3 separate regions of the Homo sapiens genome follow, and all the other regions are linked to region 1. Evidence: promoter capture Hi-C in 16 types of primary human blood cells and fetal thymus (Javierre and others, 2016). All regions are on one chromosome and are shown on one strand. Each heading gives the region's core, a stretch centred on a gene start or on the middle of the fragment in contact. The rest is flanking DNA. Distances are from core to core; before and after follow the strand shown. Region 1 holds the start of ADAMTSL3 (ADAMTS like 3). Region 2 overlaps SH3GL3 (SH3 domain containing GRB2 like 3, endophilin A3). Region 3 overlaps SH3GL3 (SH3 domain containing GRB2 like 3, endophilin A3).

Region 1 (2,700 bases), core at 63-2,562:
ACCGGAACGCAGCAACCACAGAGAAGGCAGGAGAACAACTTTAGGGGTGAACAGTCCAGGCTCTAGAGAGAGGCAGATAGGGGTTCCAGTCCTGGCTTCTCCACTCATGGTGGGCAAGTTATCCTCCCAGCCTCAGATTTATCCTAGGTGAAATGGGATAATGCTCGAACTACTGCTGCTGTGAAGATCAGATAGACACAAAGAGCTTGGTACTCGACAGACACCCAAGGAAATGGCGACTGTGGTAGGACTTAGGTGGGGGCATAATGCAGCCTTTAAGATCAATCTCCTGGCCCTTGGCTTATCCTGCTGGGACTAGGACAAGGACAGGGACAAACATTTCCTTTTACTTCTCCTCACCTCCAGAAGTACACAGGCAACTCACCCCAGTCTCTTGTCCGCGACACTCTTCCCCCCAACCCCAAATCCCAGGCCTGGACACGGCATGATTCTGGCACCTGTGGAGCTCTCAGTTCCCCAAGCCCGGCTCAGACAAGGAGGCGCCAGGTACCCAGTTAAGAGGCGCTCCTGCAAGATCCTCGTGGTCCCTGGCTGCCAAAGGTCCCAGGCCTCTGGGCAGTGAGCGCTCCACAGTCCCTTGTGTGGCGTCTATGCTGCGCGGAGGAGGCGCAGGCCAGGAGAGGGCCATTGGTCTCCACTATGGTCCTGCCTGGCCAGGAGTGCCTATGGCTCTTAGGCACGAGCCAGCGGTTCCGGGCAAACCTCTGTGTGGCTGCTGGGCCTGACTTTGCAGAGCTGGCGCCCGGGTCTGGGCGGGGTGGGTGGAGGCTATGGGAGGTGGGGCCGGGGGTGGGCTCGGGGGGAGCGACGGCATCCCTGCTCCGGCTCCGGCTGAGGCGGGGCGGCCAGGCTGGCTTGCGGCGCAGCGGCCGCCTTTCCCCAGTGCGCCTGCCGGCGGCGGCGGTGGCGGCGTCGGCAATCCCGGCTCTTGGCACAACGCCTGGCGGCCGGCCCAGGGCGAGGAGTGGCTTCCAGGAAGCGGGCGGAGGAGCGTTCCAGCCGAGTCCCGCCGTCGCCGCGGCCCCGCGCGCTCCGAGCGGCCCGGGCCTGGCCCCACACGGCGTCTCTTCGCGCCCCCGGCGCCTCCAGCTCAAGCCGAGGGCGCGGTGCCGGCGCGCAGGCTGACGGGCGCCTGGGCGCGCCGTGCACTTGCCGGGCGGTGCAGGTGGCGGCGCGCGCCCTCCGCCTCTGGGCCGGGGCCAGCGCAGCGCTCTGCGCGCCCGGAGGGGGCGGGAGAGGCGGGGCAGCCCCCGTCCCAGCCCCATTTAACTTCGCGGCGGCGGCGGCGACTGCGGCGCCGCGGGCTGGAGGCCGGCGTCGGGGAAGGTCCTGGTGCCGGATTCCGCACGAGGTGTTGACGGGCGGCTTCTGCCAACTTCTCCCCAGCGCGCGCCGAGCCCGCGCGGCCCCGGGGCTGCACGTCCCAGATACTTCTGCGGCGCAAGGTGGGTGCACCGAGCTCGGCGCAGGGCGGCCCCTCAGGGGTCGGGGGAAGGCGCTCCCCAGAGGGAGTAAGACTTGGAGCAGTGGCCTCTCTAAGCAAGTTGGGGGTCTCCAAGCAGAGTCGGGGCGTGCCACGCGGGCCCCAGGGGGCCTCAGGACTGGGGTGCTCCTCACTGCTGGGCACCTCGGGTCGGGCGCGCTTCGTGCCGTCCCGGAAGGTTCAGGGAGAGTCTTTCGGCGGCAGTTCGCGGGCTGAGGGGCGTTCTTGATTATGGGGGAACTCCACAGGGTTGGAGTTTTTCAGGATTGGGAGTTACTAAGCAGAAACCTCGCGGGTCCGAAGGTCCGGCCGGTTGACCACTGGGTAGCGAGCGCCCAGAACGCCGGGGGTTGAGGCGACGCGCGATCGTGGAAAGTGGGCGTGGGGGTGACCGGGACGCGGCGGAGGCACTGGAGGAGCGACTTCGAGGCAGCGGGTAGTCGGAGGAGTGTGCACTCGGAAGGCTGGTGCGAGCAGGCGAGGGTGGCGCAGAGTCCCAGGGCCCCGCACTGGCCGCCTCCCTTCAGCCAGGAGTCGCCGCCTCAGGTCGGAAACAGCAGCACATTTGCGGATCACATTAGACCAGGCCCTTAATGCCTTCTCCAGATGGAGAGAAGCCACCGACCCGCCCCCGGACACCAGCTCCGCCAAGGCGCCCGCGAGGCGAAGCGGGAGTCGAGTGTGACCTCGGCTTTTCCAGTCTCGACTCATACTGATTTCCCTGTAAATTGACAGGAAAAGTAAGGGAAAAAGTCCCCGCTTCCCTCCTGGTTTCAGCTGACCTCTGCTGGCTGGCCCTCACCTACTTTTAGGAGATTGTGTTAGGCTGGCTCAGGGGCTGTGTCCTCCAAACCTCCCTGAACTTAGCTCTCAGGCGTCTCTCTGGGTGTGGGTCCCGGACCTCGAGGGCGCACGGTGTCATCTAGCGAGGAAAGCCTTGAACTATCAGAAGATCTGCGTTTCAGCCCTAAAATGTCACTATCTTGCTGTGTGACCTTAGGCAGGTCCTTTCCCTCTCTGGGCGGCTTTGTTGTCTTAGACTCATTTTTGCCGCGAGCAGCAGAAGCTAGCCTAAACCTTGGCTCTGTGCTGGCTTCCTGAGTCAAATGCCAATAGCGACACCCTGCTGCTGACAGATAGGCTTGGGCAGGGATATCTCAGCTTCTGAAGAGCTGGAGGTATGAGATGCCCACTGG
Region 2 (2,700 bases), core at 57-2,556, 65 kb before region 1:
TCGTGCTCTGTTGCCCAGGCTGGAGTGCAGTGGCGCCATCTTGGCTCACCGTAACCTCTGCTCACTGCAGCCTCCACCTTCCAGTTTCAAGAGATTCTCCTGCCTAAGCCTCCCGAGTAGCTGGGATTACAGGCGCCCACCACCATGCCTGGCTAATTTTTGTATTTTTCGTAGAGATGGGGTTTCACCATGTTGGCCAGGCTGATCTCGAACTCCTGACCTCAGGTGAGCACCTTGGCCTCCCAAAGTGCTGGGATTACAGGCATGAGCCACCATGGCTGGCCCAATTAGTCTTCTTCAAGATGAATTTCACTCACAAGCTCAAATAGGGAGTTGAAAAACTGCATTTGTGATATCACCTCCATCACTTCGGGCTACTCAAGAGTCAGTGTGTAAAAATCGTCCCTTTCATGACCACTGGCTGTAACCTAAGTTCCTGTGCTCAACAAGGCAGAGAGGATGTGTGTTTGGAAAGCTTTCAACATCAGATGTCTGGCTCATCTTACGATGTGTGTTACAGAATATCAGCTGCATCCAGTGTCCCCAGACGAGAATACAAGCCAAGGCCTGTGAAAAGGAGTTCTAGTGAGCTCAATGGAGTTTCCACCACCTCTGTAGTGAAGACGACAGGTAAGTTGACCATTCTAATATGCTAAGTGTGCCTTTAGTAAAGCACTTCTAGAAACACTTATTTACTGCTTGTTTCTGGGTCAGTGAATACACACAGACCCTGGATATCTTTCTTTGGTTGTTTGGTAAATTCCCTTTTCCCCTAAACGTGCCCCTTTTTTCTGTTCCCTGGGGAAGAATTCTATCACTTATATAATGTAGCATTTAGAACCTTGGCCATAGAACCATTATGGCTACATCATCCTTTATTTTTTTAACTCTTTGAAAATATTTTCTTAATTTATTTTTAAGTTGAAATTAGCATTTTTGAGCAACTGCTATATGCTAGATACTATCTTAAGTGCTGCATCGTTATTTTTTATTAAACAAGTGATGCAAATGTGTCTTTTAGTAAAATAATCAAACAGAAAAAAATTGGTAAAATAATCAAACAGAAAAAAAAATTTAATGGTATAAGTCATTCTATAGTCTCTTGTGATCACCTACACCATCGCAGTTCGCTTCCTAGATGTAGCCACTGTTAAAAAAATTTGGTATAACTATTATCATATCTATTGAGGTACATAAATATACACATAAACAGCGTTTTGGATTTTTTTCTGTTTTTTCTTTTTTTCTTTTTTGAGACAAAGTCTTGCTCTGTCACCCAGGCTGTAGTGCAATGGCATGAACATGGCTCGGTGCAGCCTTGACCTCCTGGGCTCAAGCAATCCTCCTGCCTCAGCCTTCCATGTAGCTGGAACTACAGGTGTATGTGACCCTGCCAGGCAAATTTTTTTATTTTTTGTAGAGACAAGGTCTTACTTTGTTGCCCAGGCTGGCCTGCAACTCCTGGGCTCAAGCAATCCTTCTGCCTCGGCCTTCTGAAGTGCTGGGATTATAGGCATGAGCCACTGTACCCAGCCTTTTTTCTGTTTTTTAAATGCGAGATTATACTAGGCATATTGTTTGGCAGTTTGCTTTTTAAAATGTATCACTGTTTCTTCGAGTTATTTCCATATCATGCATATAGATCTATCCCACTGTTTTAACAGCTTCATAGTTTTCTATTATACCATTTCCCTATTGGTGGACGTTAAGGTTTTTTCCAGTTATTTGCTACAGTGAGTATCCTTTATCACTGTGCTGGCTACATTACTATTAAAGCATGAACACCTGCTTCCCCACACCCATGCCAGTAGACTTCCATTTCTGCCAAGCACTCATGAGAAAAAAATGGTATCCAGTCTTAATTTGCATTTTCATGATTATTAGTGAGGGTGAACTTTCTTTTCTATATTTTAATTTGTATTTCCTTATGTCTGAATTGTCTGTTTATGTCATTTATTTGTGTTTTTTGGGAGTAGTTTGCTTTGTCTTATTGTTTTATAGGAGCTCTTTCCATATGAGGATATTAATAATTTTTTTCCTAGTTTGTCATTTATCTTTAAACTTTGTTTTTGGAGTGCCTTGTCCCTTTGTTGTTTTTGCTGTTGTTTGCTTTGTTTAGTTTTGCTTTGAGTATACAGAAGCTTTTATTTTGATGTAGTCAAATGTGTCTGTCTTTTGCTTGTGACTTTACATTTTGTGCCCTGTCATGATTACATTTTGTGCCCTGTTGTGAAAAGTCTTCCTATCCCTGAAGTTATTCTTCTACAGTTTTCTACTACTTTGAATAATCTTTTCTTAATATTTAGATCTTTATCATAAGGATTTATTTTTCTAAATGAAAAGAAATTCCCAAACTATCTTTCAGAGTTGTGCTACCATTTCACATCCCCACCAGCAATATATTAGTGATCTAGTTTCTCCACATCCCTGCCAGCATTTGCTGTTGTCACTGTTTTTTATTTTAGCCACTTTGATAGGTGTGTAATTAATCTTACTGTGGGTTTAATTTGCATTTCCTTAGTGACTAATGATGTTGAATATCTTTTCATGTGTTTATTTGCCATCTGTGTATCCTCTTTGGTGAAATGTTTCTTCATGTCTTTTGTCCATTTTCTAATTGGATTGTTTACATTTTTACTGTTGAGTCTTGAGAATGCTTGATTTATTCTCAATACAGGTTCTTTCTATATATGTGATTTG
Region 3 (2,700 bases), core at 38-2,537, 83 kb before region 1:
GTTTGTCATTGTTTTTGTGAATTGTGTGTTTGTGTCCTTAGCCTGCTTTTGCATCAGGAGGTCCATTTTTTCCCCCCTGTCTCATGAGCTCTTTAAATGGTCAGGATATTTGCTCATTGGCTGTCTTGTATGTTGATGAAGCTTTGTCCCAGGTAAGCATTTGCCTTCAGACCTTGTATATGAAGGTCATTTCAATGGAGAGAGATTTTTATTTTTTATTTACTGAAGCTCTTTAGTCTTCCTATATGGTTTCTAGCTTTTTGGAATCATGTTTAGAAAATCTTTTTCATCCCACTCCCTGGCAAATGATATAAACGTTTATTTATACTTGTTTTTGAATCCTGTATTTTCTTTTATTGCCTTTAAATTTCCAAGCTCCTGCATTTATTGGAGCTACAGTGCAATAGGGTTCTAATTTTGTTTTCTAACAAATAAATAGCTTGTTTCAGTACTGTTGAAAAGTCCAACTTTCTCCTGATGATTTGAAATGATTCTTTTATTATAGGCTAAATTATTATACATTAAATTTGTTTATGGTCTTTCTCTTCCGTTTCTTGATCTGTATCCTGTTTTGATTCAGTGTCATATTGTTTTAAGTATTGAAGTTTTAAAACATACTTTAATATATTATTTACTAAAAATTTAGGTATTGTATTGCAAAAAGTTCACAGACACACTTACTGGTTTTATTTTTCCAGGTGAAACTTAAGTCCCTTTTATTTAAAAAAGTCATTAAATTTTGATTGAGATTCATTTAAATTAATACATTAAATTGAGGATGAATTGGATTTAATATATTAAGTATTCCCAAAGAATTTGGCATATTTGCTATTCATATAGTGGTAACAAGGCAGGAGATGGAAGAGATGGAAGTTGAGAAATCAAATATTTGGCCACAGTAATCATTCTAGGAAATTGGAGGAAATATCTTTTGAAAAAAATGTTAAAACTCAAGCATTAAAACACGAATTAATTAGTGACAAAGGGTAATATTATCCCTCAGAGCAGTATAATGTGAATTTTATTTTATTCTAAGGGCCAATGGGGACAAGATGGCCTATTTCTTACTCTGAAGGCACATCAGTGAAGGGAGCAGGTGAAACTGCCAGGCAGGCCTTGAAATCCAAGGACACTCCTGCCGTGCATCTGGCCTTGGCGACAGCCAGACAATTTGGTAGCTTCCCAGGTGCTCGGCAACCGAAAAAAACTTGGGATGAGGAAGAGAGCTGATGTCAGCAGGGCATCAGGAACAGATGGATTTCTGCTCTTCCAAGGAAGAGGCTGTGCCGTTGGATGTTTTCTTTTGGGGGGCCACATACTGGGACCTCCTACAGTACAGAAACCTCAGTGGGTGGAGGCTGAGCCCCACACCCGTGGAATTCGACAGCGCCAGTCTCAGGCAAGGAGAGGGAATGTTGATTCCAGGGAGGTGGCGGCCCATGTTCAGAGCATCATCTTTGGAGTCTACAGTGTATTTGAAAATGTTTCTGTCAAGGCGAAATGAGCTGACATTGTGAGACACTGGCACTGGTGGCAGAGGGGCTGTGTAGGGGGTCAGGCAATACCATTTCTCACCATTTGGGCAGGAAAGAGTCCACAGGCTAGGAAGGGACATTTCGTCTTCATTTAGGAATTATTTAGACACACTTTGGAGAGTTGAGCTAAGGAAATGTAGCTTCCAAGGAGGAATGAAGCTACCACTGGGTCCGTATGGAGTCCTGGGAAGCCTTAGTTTAGAGTAACGGTTCCTACTTCTGTTTTGCAAGGTCCTCTTTAGTATCTTTCTGTTTTTTTTTTAAGGGAGGTGAGGCACATGTTGCCATCTCTATTTTACAGGTAATTAAGTTGTCCATGCCCTCACCTGGTGGGTGAAACAACTCAAAGGTCAGACTTAGGCTGGGCTTTACGGTCTTCTTCAAGCCTAGAAATGGAGCAACCCAATCTCCATCTTTTTACAAGATCAATTTGGAAAAACCCAAATATAGGAAAAATAGTTCATTCTAGTGCAGCATTTCCCAGGGATGTTTTCTAGAGACCCTGCAACCCTCATTGTACAGAGAACTAGAGGGCACCTGGTTTGCAGTAATCTGGCAAATTACTGCCGATTAACCGGACTGAGATAGCACACTGTAATCCAGGAAAAACTACCTGCCACTACCCGAGCCAGGAAGGCTGGCCTGGGCTCCAACGCACCAGCAGACCCCCACCCCACCCTGCTGACAGGATGTCCCATGTGACACTGGCAGGCTTTCTTTGACATCAGAGAGGGCAGGGAGGCTTAGAACCTTCTAGAAGGATACGGGGAGTAGCCTTGAGAAGATCCCACGGCTAGAAGCTGAGATGTTTTGTTGGTTTATTTCTATTGTAATTTTTACTGGTTAACACTTAGCCCCATGAGTGAATCCTTTCATTGTTTACAAAGAGATTTTATTCTCAAGCTTCTAAGGAACCCTCCGTGCCAGTTTCCCAAATTACCAGTTTTTTAGAAAGGATCTTTATCCCCATCTAGTGGTCCAAATGGTAAGTACTTCGGTCTGCTAGCCTCAGTTGTATTTTCTGTAGTGGTGAAAGTGCAGACCATAGAGAGGAAAATACAGAAAATAGGAAGCCTTGCTTTTTCTTTTTCATTCTGATCCAGGATTCAGAGGTCCCGGAGCAAGGACCTTGCTACACCATCATCCACACACTTTTGGTAAAGAA

The links. The method cuts DNA at HindIII sites, captures the fragments that hold promoters and counts their contacts. A CHiCAGO score of 5 or more calls a contact.
Region 2: a fragment that was not itself captured here is called in contact with the fragment with the promoter of ADAMTSL3 in region 1 in 1 of 17 cell types (neutrophils); the score reaches 5.1 in neutrophils.
Region 3: a contact is called between a fragment that was not itself captured here and the fragment with the promoter of ADAMTSL3 in region 1, in 1 of 17 cell types (neutrophils). The highest score is 5.3, in neutrophils.

What each region holds. Positions count from the first base shown.
Region 1 is chr15:83,652,811-83,655,510 of GRCh38, forward strand. It overlaps ADAMTSL3 (ADAMTS like 3), which reads left to right and starts at 1,313. Exons shown (of 30, transcript NM_207517.3): 1 at 1,313-1,466. The HindIII fragment of the contact is 5,383 bases long and covers 1-2,700 here.
Region 2 is chr15:83,588,142-83,590,841 of GRCh38, forward strand. SH3GL3 (SH3 domain containing GRB2 like 3, endophilin A3) reads left to right here. Exons shown (of 9, transcript NM_003027.5): 8 at 521-630. Among named protein-coding and RNA genes, the nearest start is that of ADAMTSL3, 65 kb to the right of the region's middle. The HindIII fragment of the contact is 1,666 bases long and covers 474-2,139 here.
Region 3 is chr15:83,569,793-83,572,492 of GRCh38, forward strand. All of the region lies in intron 4 of SH3GL3 (SH3 domain containing GRB2 like 3, endophilin A3), which reads left to right. Among named protein-coding and RNA genes, the nearest start is that of ADAMTSL3, 83 kb to the right of the region's middle. The HindIII fragment of the contact is 2,297 bases long and covers 140-2,436 here.